Linked DNA regions of Homo sapiens: region 2 is linked to region 1. Evidence: promoter capture Hi-C in human tissues and cell types (Jung and others, 2019). All regions are on one chromosome and are shown on one strand. The core of a region is centred on a gene start or on the middle of the fragment in contact, and the rest is flanking DNA. Distances in the headings are between cores, read along the strand shown. Region 1 holds the start of CCDC169 (coiled-coil domain containing 169). Region 2 has its middle 19 kb from the start of CCNA1.

Evidence for each region. The method cuts DNA at HindIII sites, captures the fragments that hold promoters and counts their contacts. A contact is called where the count stands out against the background at its distance.
Region 2: a fragment that was not itself captured here is called in contact with the fragment with the promoter of CCDC169 in region 1 in 6 of the 25 tissues and cell types used here (H1 embryonic stem cells, dorsolateral prefrontal cortex, hippocampus and 3 more).

What each region holds. Positions count from the first base shown.
Region 1 is chr13:36,294,036-36,300,759 of GRCh38, reverse strand. CCDC169 (coiled-coil domain containing 169) reads left to right here and starts at 2,946. Exons shown (of 8, transcript NM_001144981.3): 1 at 2,946-3,123; 2 at 4,903-4,982. The coding sequence starts at 3,041. CCDC169-SOHLH2 (CCDC169-SOHLH2 readthrough) reads left to right here and starts at 2,946. Exons shown (of 16, transcript NM_001198910.2): 1 at 2,946-3,123. RefSeq lists enhancers at 1,395-2,357, 2,358-3,319. The HindIII fragment of the contact is 10,512 bases long and covers 1-6,724 here.
Region 2 is chr13:36,409,959-36,416,682 of GRCh38, reverse strand. No RefSeq gene overlaps it. Among named protein-coding and RNA genes, the nearest start is that of CCNA1, 19 kb to the left of the region's middle. The HindIII fragment of the contact is 7,245 bases long and covers 1-6,620 here.

The sequences.
Region 1 (6,724 bases), core at 1,697-4,196:
TGGTGGGTGGTAGCAGGTATTATTCCTACCTCTGTAAACTGTAAGGATTTCCCCTCTAATCCTTTGTGATGGTTCTTTCCCCAGCCTGAGTACTTGCCCCACCATGTGTGTGCATTCATCAGTATTCTGCTGCAGAGTGTACCTTGTGGCAGGCCAGGTCTCATTAACACAGGCCTCCATAACAACTGTTTCAGTACTGACTTGAGTGGCTAAGTTAAATACTAAAAGCTAAAAAAACCAAAGCCCTTATACAAAGGCTGGAATGTAATAAAAACCCACCAAGAACTAGGTCTCAAAGCATGACAAAAAAAAAAAAAAAAAAAAAGAAGGAATTCTTAGCTGGACCCATTTAGGATTAAACAAGTTTTTTGGGGTTCTGAAGGAATCCCCAAACCTCCCTGATTTAGCAGGAGACAGGGGTAATCACCCTAGCACCTGGACCCATTTAGATTAAGTTTACTGAGGCTCCAGAGGAAGGTCTTCAGGACTCAAGACCTTAGTTGTAGATTATAAAAAGTTAACCACTTAATGTCTATAGATGAATGCACACTTACACATAGACATATAGCTTAGAAGGTCTGGAAAACTGTAATTTTGAGTTGGTCTGGTTATAGTTTCCAGGGCTTCTGCCTGTAACTGGTTCCAGAAATAAAAACTCTCTTCCTCCCCAGTTCATCTACATGTTCTTACTGGGTCACAAGAAATAGCAACCCAACCCTCAGTTTGGTCTGGGAACACCCTGTGCAGCTCTCCCCTCCAATATCTGCCCTGCAAAGTCTAGCTGCCTTGTTCTCTCTAGACTCTTAGAGAAACTCCGTTTCCTCAACTTAGGGCAACCACCAGCCTCTGCCTGTTTTCTCCCTTTCTGCTTTGTACCCTGGCAGGCCCAGGCCAATTTGGGAGCTTGCCTCATTTGTGTCTCATCTCTTGGTGATCGTTTTCCCTTATTGCCTGATGTTCAATGTTCTTTTTTTGTTCCTCTTAGTTTTTTAGTTGTTTCAGGCAGGAGGGTAAATTCAGGTCCTTTATCTCTGCCAGAAACACAAATCTGTGGTTTCTGTAGTTGTTGACAAACCTGTTTTCTGCTTGCCTTTGCTCCTAATTTCCCACAGTGAGATCCTGCTAACAGATCTTTTTAAGAAATCCTCTGGGTCGGGTGCAGTGGCTCATGCCTATAATCCCAGCACTTTGGGAGGCAGAGGTGGGTGGATCACGAGGTCAGGAGTTCAAGACCAGCCTGAGCAATATGGTGAAACCCCATCTCTACTAAAAATACACAAAAAAATTAAGCCAGGCATGGTGGTGCGTGCCTGTAGTCCCAGCTACTTTGGGAGGCTGAGGCAGGAGAATTGCTTTAACACAGGAGTGGAGTTTGCAGTAAACTGAGATTGTGCCACTGCACTCCAGCCTGGGAGACAGATGAGACTCCGTCTCAAAAAAGAAATCCTCTGTATATTTGGATTTGTCAACAGATAATCTAGTCCTTTTCACTTCATTCTATTCTGTTTACTTGGTTGTGAGTTGCCCTTTCAGACTTAACAGCTAGACAAAATTTTGATAAGCATACCTCCTATATTAGGGTAATTCACAGAAACAGAACCAATAGGGAGTGTGTGTATAAAAGATTTATTATAAGGAATTTGCCCGTACAATTATGAAGGCTGAGAAGTCTCAGGATCTGCAGTTGACAAGCTGGAGATGCAAGCAAACTGATGTGCAGTCCCAGTCTGAGCCCAAGGCTGGAAAAGTGTTCCAGCTCAAGCTGTTTGGCTGTAGGAGCTCCCTCTTACTCCTGGGAGGTCAGCCTTTTTGTTCTATTCTGTCTTCGGTCGATTGGCTGAGGCCCACCCACATTGGGGAAGACAATGTACTATACTCAGTCTACCAATTGAAATGTTAATCTCATCCAGAAACTCAATTGGAAAACTATGTATTCACAACACTTCTGACACCAAATTGTGTTTTCCACACCAATTATCCCATTCTCACTAAAACCTTGGTCTCCACAACCCCTTTATTCTCTAAAGACATTCCTAAGTCTTTAGTCAGTAACTTTTCAACCAATTGCCAATCAGAAAATCTTTGAATCTAGCTGTGACCTGGAAGCCACCCCGTCCCCCACCCCTTCCAATTGCCCTGCCTTTCCCGATGGAACCAGTGTATATCTTAACATGCATTTGATTGATGTCCCATGTCTCCCTAAAATGTATAGAACTAAGCTGTACCCTGACCACCTTGGGCACGTGTTCTCAGAATCTCCTGAGGGCTGTCACCCGCCATTGGTCACTCATTTGGCTCAGAATAAATCTCTTCAAATATTTTACAGAGTTTGTCTCTTTTTGTCAAGGAAACACAGATGTATCAAGGGTAGGATGCAAACTTTGTGATTAAAAATATAATGAAATTTCAAGTTGCAGTGAGCAGCTCTGAGGTATGTTCATGAACAGCACACAGATGCAAAACAATAATCTGGAGGGTTAGCAGTCTTCCCGAGTTCAGGAGGTACCTTTTTAAGACCAGTTCCTCCCGCTCCGACACTGCCAAATCAGCGACTCTGGTGCTTGTTCAACTGAAGCAAAGAAGGGCGCAGCTAATCTTGGATCCAGCGTTTCCCTAACAAGGGCTAAGAGTGAAGCCGACTTTGCCGTCCGGGGCAATGTTTAGGAAAGCAACCAAAGCCAGCAGGAGGGAAGAAAAAGGAGAGGGATATTCTTGGCCCCCTGACACTCCGCTGTGTAGCCGGAGCACGTCTAACCCCAGCGTCTTGAGCAAGGAGTGTCCCTGGAGCTGTTATCCAGGGTCGCTCCACCGCACAGAGTAGGCTTCTCCAGTCTCCCCGGCTGCCCTCGCCCCACCCCCTGCCGCCTGCGGGCATCGCTTTATGACGTCACCACGTGCCTCTGCGGGCAGGCGCGGGAGGTGCGACCGGGGGGCGGTTGGGGTTCACCGCCTCGTGCCGTACTGGCTTCTGGGTGGCCCTTAATGTCTTGTGCTCTAAGGTGCTGAGGGGAAAGACGCGGGAGGTCTCTGGCCTGACACTATGAAGGAAGAGAGAAACTACAACTTCGACGGTGTGAGCACCAACCGCCTGAAACAGCAGTTGCTGGAAGAAGTCCGCAAGAAGTGAGTCGGCGGGCGGCGCGGTGTGGGGTCCCGTCCACACCCCCCGAGCCTTCACCTGCAGAGTCTCAGGGCTGAAGCCGCTGAGGGTGCTGTAAGACCGGCGCCGTGATTAACCCCTGGGCACTTCGGTCTGGGTTCCAAAAGTATTCCATGCGAAAGATTCACGTGCCTCTTTGAGTAAGCCTTTGGTATTGTTAAGTAGGCAGCTTTCCGGGTAGGATGTGCTGCCCTTAAGGATCCAATCATATGGCGTGTATTTTGCCCATATACTGTAATGCCAAAAGTTGTGTTTGGTTTTGATGTCTCCATAAATCCAGGTTTTCTGCTTAAAATTCCAAAGATTTTATTTAGTTATACGGGGTTTTTTTTTTCTTTCATCCCTTTAAGGGGAACTTCATAAAATGACATTTAGTAAAACTGTTACTCCTCCTTTATGCTTTTTAAAAACAGTATTCGTACTTCGTGTTAAATTTTTGAAACATTTAAAGTATTTTTTGGACATACTCCCAACTCCATCCACAAGTCCCGTGAGAATTGGACTCTCCTTTGTGCCTAGATAGGGTTCTGGGTTTTCCTCTATTGTAGCTCCAGTCACAGTATTTTAATTGCCTGTCTATTTCTTGTTTTGCTACCAAACTACACGCGTTCTGAGGACAGGTTCTGTGTATTCTGAGGAAGTAGAGAATAAGAGCAAGTACTTGAGGACAGTCCTGCAAAAACACAAACTCCATCTCTTGTCACTCAGTAACTATGCAATCTTAGACAAGTTAATTAACCTCTTTAATCCTCAGTTTTCTCAGCTCTAAGACTGGTATACAAATAGTCATCTCATACCTCCTGCTGTTGTTCCCAGGTTGGAATGAAATGCACTATAAAGAACTTAGCATTGGCTTGTGATACGCATCCAGTGGAACTTTGCTGCCGCTATTGCTATTTTTCTGTTCACTGTTCACTGAATTCTTCCGTATTTAATACAATGCCTTGAACATAATAGGCACTCAAAAATATTTATTGAATAAATGGCCCTGTCATATGATAATGTTCTATTTACTGATGCCCTAAATAGCTAACCTTTTAAATTAGTGTTTGTTTTTTTCTCTTTGTTTCAGTTTGTCAGCTGTTATGTATTGCCCTAGGTATGCCTTTCTGTAATAATGTGCAGTGCCTAATTTGCTTGGTTCTGAAAAACCAGGTAACTAACTTCTTTAGGATGATATTTAAGTTAAAAATAAAGGATTTCCAAGGGCCGGGCCTGGTGGCTCACGCCTGTAATCCCAGCACTTTGGGAGGCCGAGGCTGGGCGGATCACAAGGTTAGGAGTTCGAGACCAGCCTGGCCAATATGGTGAAACCCTGTCTCTTCTAAAAATACAAAAAAATTAGCAGGGCTTGGTGGCGCATGCCTGTAATCCCAGCTATTCAGGAGGCTGAGGCAGGAGAATTGCTTGAACCCGGGAGGCGGAGGTTGCAGTGAGCCGAGTTTGCACCACTGCACTCCAGCCTGGGCGACAGAGCGAGATTCTGTCTCAAAAAAATAAATAAAAATAAATAAAAGATTTCTAATGGTTGCCTGGGGGTCTTTGAGCTTTAGTGCATATTTGAGTCCTAGAACTGACTAATTGGAAGCCTTCCTTTGCCTGAGTCTTATTTCTTAACCAGTCCTTCAGTAAATAATGTGTCATAGTAAATTGTTCCTGAAGTAGTAGTGGGTTACTATGTATTATTTTTCTGATGTTATTTTTAATTGAATTATAATCAACAAAAATATTTTAAATAACAGGGATGCAGTGCAACTCTCAATATTTGAACTAAGACACAAGATTACGGAACTGGAAGCCAAACTCAATACTGACAATGAAGGTATATAAGTAAATACTTATATTTGTGACTCCTGTATAATTATTGTTCATTTTACCAGGATATCTATGGTGCATTAAATTCCATATATTGAATAATAGTACCAACATTTCAGTATTGCTTTTTGGCCACATTAATGATAGTTTATGATAGAGGCTTTAAAACTGATACTTCAGAATATCAAACCTATTACTATTTAATTATTTTTCTACCTTTCAAGTTCAAAATGTTCATTAATTAGCAAAAACTTTGTTACATGACATCAATATATTATTTCTTTATTAAATAAATATCACCAGTTTTCTATTCACCTCAAGTTACACTCTTTATATCTTAACTTCTAGGTTTGGGATATGTTTAAAATCCGTATCTAGGTTTTAGCTATTGTTGTTGGAAGAATGTGTGTTTGGTGTGGAGGATGCTGTGTACCTACACACTCATATATCCTTAAAATTTGTAATGTATGCAAGATATGACCCTGCCATATGTCAACACTTTAAATGGAAGACCTTTGTTTTCCCTGTTCTAAAGAGGTTCATTGACTATTGGGAGAAAGTATCAAATCAGATTATGGATATGAGAAGTCATATAAGTTCTATGTAAGGATAAATGAAAACTTAGGGAAGGGAAACCTAACAGAATTCGGGTGAGTTAATAAAGACAGGCTTTCCAGAACAGGCATTGTTTGAACTGAATGCTAAAGAACAGGAGGACTTTATTAGGATTATCAGGGTGGGCATTTATAAGGGAGGAGACCACCCCTCATATTGTCTTATGCCCAATTTCTGCCTCCAGAGAAAGAAGAAATAAAAACTAAAAGGCAGAAATGAAATCCACAGGCAGACAGCCCAGCACCACACCCTGGGCCTGGTAGTTAAAGATTGACCCCCAACCTAATCGGTTATGTTATCTATAGATTACAGACATTGTATGGAAAAGCACTGTGAAAATCCCTGTCCTGTTCTGTTCTGTTCTAATTACTGGTGCATGGAGCCCCCAGTCACGTACCCCCTGCTTGCTCAATCAATCTCAACCCTCTCATGCAGACCCCCTTAGAGTTCTAAACCCTTAAGAGGGACAGGAATTGCTTACTCGGGGAGCTCATTTTTTTGAGATGTGAGTCTTGCTGATGCTCCCGGCCGAATAAAGCCTTACCTTCTTTAACTTGGTGTCTGAGGGGTTTTGTCTGTGGCTCGTCCTGCTACATTTATACTCTTCCTCAATTGGGGAGCCATGAACAAAAAGGAATAGTGGCCATATGGGAAATAAAATGCCACTTTCTATAAGTACCCAGTGCTTTGTTAAAGCTTGGTTGCAGAATACTACTTTGTCCCAAGGCTGAAGTAGCTTCCTCTATCTCCATATCTATATCTTAGATATAACCTCAGTCTCTGGGGGCAGGCTCTCAGTGTACTTATCAAGTAGCTGCGTTGGCAGGGTAACTGGAACGTCCTCATGTACCCAGTTACAGGAAAAACAGAAGGCATGCTCACAGGTACACATGCAATAACTATGCCCAGTAGTAAAATGTGGCTCAACAAGTTGTAGCAGTTCTCAAAAGAAGGAGCTAGTATGTGGGTATAAAGAGAAAACGTCAGAATGATAGGAGAGAAAGTTCTTTCCTTAGTGGGCCAAAAGTAAGGCCTAAGGTGAAGGGCAGAAACATTTACTCCTTTAAAGCCAGGGACTGTGTCAGGTGAGGTAGTTATTATTATCCCCATATATGGAAGAATGAAATTCAGGAA
Region 2 (6,724 bases), core at 1,749-4,248, 120 kb before region 1:
TTTTCCACTTCAAAACTGCACTTTTGAGAAAAGATGGGGATCTGAATTGTATAAAAACAAAGTTGTACAGCATTTTTTTAAACTTCCAACTTTTATTTTAAGTTCAGGGGTACATGTGCAGGATGTGTAGGTTTGTTACATAGATAAACATGTGCCATGGTGGTTTGCTGCACAGATCATCCCACTAACTAAGTATTGAGCCCAGCATCCACTAGCTATTCTTCCTCATCCTCTCCCTCCTCCCACCCCACGCTCTCTGTCAGGCCCCAATGCATGTTATTCCCCTCCATGTCCACATGCTCTCATCCTTCAGCTCCCACTTATACGTGAGAATGTGCAGTATTTGGTTTTCTGTTCTTGCATTAGTTTGCTAAGGATAATGGCCTCCAGCTCCATCCATGTCCTTGCAAGGGACATGATCTTCTTCCTTTTTATGACTGCATAGTATTCCATGGTATATGTGTACCACATTTTCTTTATCCAGTCTATCACTGAAGGGCATTTAGGTTAATTCCATGTCTTTGCTATTGTGATTAGTGCTGCAATGAACATACACATGCATGTATCTTTATAACAGAATGATTTATATTTTGGGGGTATCTACTCAGTAATGGGATTGCTGGGTCAAATGGTATTTCTGCCTCTAGGTCTTTGAGGAATTGCCAGTCTTCCACAGTGGTTGAACTATTTACACTCCCACCAACAGCATAAAAGCATTCCTTTTTCTCCACAACCTCATCAGTATCTCTTGTTTTTTTGACTTTTTAATAATAGGCATTTTGACAGGTGTGAGATGATATCTTACTGTGGCTTTGATTTGCATTTCTCTAATGATCAGTGATGTTAAGCTTTCTTTTATAGGTTTGTTGGTTGAATGTATGTCTTCTTTTGAAAAGTGTCTGTTCATGTTCTTTGCCCAGCTTTCAATGGGGTTATTTTTCTTCTGTGAATTTGTTTAAATTCCTTATAGATGGTGGATATTAGATCTTTGTCAGATGGATAGACTGCAAAAATTTTCTCCCACGCTGTAGGTTGTCTGTTTACTCTGTTGATAGTTTCTTTTGCTGTGCAGAAGCTTTTTAGTTTAATTAGATCCCATTTGTCAATTTTTGCTTTTGTTGCAATTGCTTTTGGTGTCTTCATCATGAAATCTTTGCCTGTGCCTATGTCCTGAATAGTATCGCCTAGATTTTCTTCTAGGGTTTTTATAGTTTTAGATTTTACATTTAAGTGTTTAATCCATCTTGAGTTTATTTTTGTATATGAAGTAAGGAAGGGATCCAGTTTCAATTTTCTGCATATGGCTAGCCAGTTCTCCCAGCACCATTTGTTAAATAGGGTATCCTTTCCCCTTTGCTTGTTTTTAGCAGGTTTGTTGAAGACCAGATGGTTGTAGGTTGCAGTCTTATTTCTGAGTTCTTTATTCTGTTCCATTGGTCTCTCTATCTGTTCTTGTACCAGTACCATGCTGTTTTGGTTACTGTAGCCTTGTAGTATAGTTCGAAGTCAGGTAACATGATGTCTCCAGCTTTGTTCTTTTTGCTTAGGATTGCCTTGGCTATTTGGGCTCTTTTTTGGTTCCATATGAATTTTAAAACAGTTTTTTCTAATTCTGTGAAGAACGTTAATGGTAGATTAATGGGAATAGCATTGAATCTATCAACTGCTTTGGGCGATATGGCCATTTTCATGTTATTGATTCTTCCTAGCCATTAGCATGGAATGTTTTCTATTTGTTTGTGTCATCTCTGATTTCTTAGAGCAGTGGTTTGTAGTTCTCCCTGAAGAGCTCCTTCACTTCCCTTGTTAGCTATATTCCTAAGTATTTTATTCTTTTTGTCGAAATTGTGAACGGGAGTTCATTCGTAATTTGGCTCTCAGCTTGCCTGTTGTTGGTGTGTAAGAATGCTAGTGATGTTTCACATTGATTTCATATCCTGAGACTTTGCTGAAGTTGCTTATCAGATTAAGAAGCTTTTGGGTTGAGACAATGGGGTGTTCTAAAAATAGAATCCTGTTATCTTCAAACAAAGATAGTTTCACTTCCTCTCTTCCTATTTGAATACACTTTATATCTTTATCTTGCCTAATTGTCCTGGCCAGACCTTCCAATACTATGTTGAATAGGAGTGGTGAGAGAGGGCATCCTTGTCTGTCTTGTGCTGGTTTTCAAGGGTAATGCTTCCAGCTTTTGTCCATTCAGTATGATATTGGCTACAGGTTTGTCATATATGGCTCTTATTATTTTGAGGTATGTTCCTTCAATACCTAGTTTATTGAGAGTTAATATAAAGGGATGTTGAATTTTATTGAAGGATTTTTCTGCATCTAGTGAGAAAATCATGTAGTTTTTGTCTTTAGTTTTCTTTATGTGATGAACCACATTTATTGATTTGCGTATATTGAATCAACCTTGCATCCTGGGGACGAAGTCTACTTGATTGTGGTGGATAAGCTTTTTGATGTGCTGCTGGATTCAATGGTTTGCCAGCATTTTGTGGAAAATTTTTGCATTGATGATCATCAAGGATATTGGCCTGAAGTTTTCTTTTTTTGTTGTATCTCTGCCAGGTTTTGGTATCAGGATGATGCTGGCCTCCTAGAATGAGTTAGGGAGGGGTCCCTCCTTTTCAGTTGTTTGGAATAGTTTCAGTAGGACTGCTACCAGCTCTTCTTTGTACCTCTAGTGGAATTCAGCTGTAAGTCCTGGGTTGTTTTTTTTTTTTGGGGGGGGGTTCGTGGGCTATTTATTACTGCCTCAATTTCACAACTTGTTATTGGTATATTCAGGGATTCAACTTCTTCCTGGTTTAGTCTTCAGAGTGTGTATATGTGCAGGAATTTATCAATTTCTTCTAGATTTTCTAGTTTATGTGCACAGAAGTATTTATAATGTCTCTGATGGTTGTTTATATTTCTGTGGAGTCAGTGGTAATATCCTTTTTATCATTTTGATTGTGCTTATTTTATCTCCTTCTGCTCTGTGAAGACACAATGAGAAGACTGCCACTATGAATAAGGAAGTGGGTCCTCACCAGACACTGAATCTACAGGCACCTTGATATTGGAGTTCCCAATTTCCAGAACTGGCATTTCAAGATCAAGGATTCAGCAGGTTTGGTTTCTCCTGAGGCTTCTCTCCTTGGTTTGCAAATGGCTGTCTTCTTACCCCGTCCTCACATGGCTTTTTCTCTGTGCATACATCCCTGGTGTCTCTTCCTTTTCTTATAAGGCCACACACAGTTCTGTTGGACTAGGGCCCCATCCTTATGATGTCATTTACCCTTAATTACCACTTTAAAGGCCCTATCTCCAAATACAGTCACACTGGAGGTTTGGGCTTCAACACAGGAATTTGGGAGGGAGGCACAGTTAAGTCCATAACAGCATTTTGGGAATAATGATGTCAGAAAAAAATGTATCAGTGTTGCCATTGGAAAATGGAAATTATATTCACTTTGATTTACTATAATCATATTCATGTGTTTATTCATTTGGGAATTCTTTATTAAGCATTTACTCTGTAAGACACATACTGTTCTGTAGTCCTATGATCTGTGTGTTTTGGTTATCTTCTGTTGCATAACAAACCACCTCAAAAACTTAGTAACTTAAAACAACAACAGTATGTATTTTGCTCACAAATCTACAAGATGGTCAGAGTTCTACTTGATGTTAGCTGAGGCAGCTCAAAGACTAGCCACGGGAATCATCTGATGGCTCATTCACTTACATATCTGGCAGATGATGCTTGCTTTTGGCTGAGACCTTAGTCTTGGCTATTGGCCTCTCCATGGAGCCTGGGTTTCCTCAAAACATGGCACTGGTTCAGAAACAGGGATAGACAGAAACATAAAAAGATCACCAGGCAGACACTATCTTGCCTTTTCCAACCTAGCCTCAGAACTCACACAATGTCACTTTCAGAACATTTCATTTGTTAAACTTGAGTCACTTAGGTTGGCTTATATTCAAGAGAAGCGGAATTGGGTTCTATCTTTTTATAGGAGTAGTGTCAAAGAATTTGTAGGCGTGGTTAAAACCACCATGCCATGTTGATATAGTTTGGTTCTGTGTCCCCACCCAAATCTCAGCTCAAATTGTAATTCCCATAATCCCCACATGTTGAGGGAGGGTCCTGGTGGGAGATGATTGGATCATAGGGTGATTTCCCCCATGTTGTTTTCATGATAGCAAGTGAATTCTCACGAGATCTAATGGCTTTATAAATGGCAGTTTTCCCTCCTCTCCTCCTTCCTGCTGCCTTGTGAAGAAGGTGCCTGCTTTCCCTTCACCTTCTGCAACAATTCTAAATTTTCTGAGGCCTCCCCAGCCATGCAGAACTTCAAGTCAATTAAACCTCTTTCCTTTATAAATTACCCAGTCTCAGGCATTTCTTTATAGCAGTGTGTAAATGGTTAAACATGAATATGGTAAATACCTTAAAGATTTTCTGTGGCTTCAATGATTGAAAAACTTTACCCTAAAGAACAATAATACCAAAGACAAAACTACAACAAAATGTGAGTAACTGTTAAGCCAAAATATAGACCAGGTTATTTGAAGAATGTTGTTTGTTTTTGTGTTTTACCAAATTAGTCCTCAGAGAAAAAGAGTTACTTAACGCTATAGACTAAATGTTTATGTCCCCTCAAATTCATATGTCGAAATCCTAACTTCCAAGGTGATGGCATTAGGAGACTGAGTCTTTAGGAGTTGATTAGGTCATGAGGGAGGAAACCTCATGAATGGGACTAGCGTCTTCATAAAAGAGACCCCAGAGATCTCCCTCTCCCCTTCTGCTCTGTGAAGACACAATGAGAAGACTGCCACTATGAATAAGGAAGCGGGTCCTCACCAGACACTGAATCTACAGGCACCTTGATATTGGAGTTCCCAATTTCCAGAACTATGAGAAATAAATATTTGTTGTTTATAAGGTACTCACTCTATGGTATTCTGCTGTGGCAGCCCAAATGAACTAAGACACTTAATATCCAAGCCCTCTCCAAGATTCTTGTTTGATGGAAGTATTCTTCCAATTATTCTATTTTAATTACAAATTATTTAGGAAAGACAAATTAGCCTGAAAAGATGTCAATTAGAGCTATATGGGGAATCTTAAAAGGTCATCTAACTGAGCTAATAAAAAGACAAAGCCTTTTAGTACAGATTTGGTAATTATTCTTCCAGGTAGGACCTTCAAATTGTAGTGCTGGGATATGGATATAAACAAGATTACTAAGATCAGTTTTTCATAAAGCAACTCACCTTTGCTTTGTGGAGATAACAAATGTAAGTCTCATAGGACAATGAAAAACAATTGTTCTACTGTTTCACAATTGGCTACTTTGTTTTGGAATAAAACTTACAATTATAGTATCATATGCCAATCCAAAGGTATTTTATCTTAAAAGTTGTTTTATCTCAAGATACTTAAAATTGGAAAAAATTAGATGGCTCAAACAGTGGCTCTTCTGATAATGAAGACTCTTGTCTTCAAGAATTTGAAGAAAATTTGAGTAAAATTATTTCTGAAATGAGAAGAAATATTTCAAAATTGGCACATTTTTATAATATTATTTCAAATATAATTGTATAAGCAGATTCATATTAACTAGCTCAAGTAAACATTGACTATTTTGTTAACATCCATTGTGTTCATATATTCATGTTGACCAAAAAGCTTTTTGTATTTTTCCATTATGAAAACAGAGAGCCACCTCATATTTAGGGTTGCCTTTTAATCAGCATATATATTATTTTAAAAGCTTAGCTTTCAGTAATTATCCTTCAGTTCAAATCTATGAATAACATAGTCTGTGTTTTTACTAAATTGGTTTCTTTTCCCTTTGTATTATTGTGTGATAACTAATACAGTAATACAGATTTTCATGGAGCAGACGCATTATCAATGTGATTAATTTCTGAATACAAGCAACCAAACACAGTACCATATACACAAAGGCCCATTTAACAAAGATTTCACTGAAGTAATTCAGTGAGTCTTACTTAATGTGTATCACAAAGAAATGATGGGATTATTGGCAGAGAAAGCTTTCTTCTCAATCTGTGGGGTGGTGTGAGCCAGGAGAGTGCATGCTAGAAGGCCATGGTCAGAACTGCTACCTGGAAAGGTCCAGATCCGCACATGGACTTCTGTTGGAAAAGAACTACAGCTCACTCACCTGTGCAAACTCAGGTCACACCATAAGCTCTCTGTGTACATTAGCATTTTTACCCTGAATTAGATTATTATTCTTTTTATACATTTTAATTAAAATATTGTTATATCTCTATCATAATGAAACTAAGGAAAATACAGTTTCTTTTCTTTTTCAACGTAATGTTAACATTTAAAAGAAAAATTTGTATTTTGGCTCATAGGCAGTGACTATGTCTACATATTTCATTTGTCCAATTCCTTTTTTTTTTTTTTGAGATGGAGTCTCACTCTGTCACCCAGGCTGGAGTGTAGTGATATTATTTTGGCTCACTGAAACCTCCACTTTCCAGATTCAAGCAATTCTCCTGCCTCAGCCTCCCGAATAGCTGGGATTATAGGCGTGCACTACCACACCCAGCTAATTTTCTTTTTTGTATTTTTAGTAGAGACAGGGTTTCACCATGTTGGCCAGGCTGGTATCAAACTCCTGACCTCAGGTAATCCTCCTTCCTTGGTCTCCCAAAGTGCTGGGATTACAGGCATGAGCCACTGCACCCA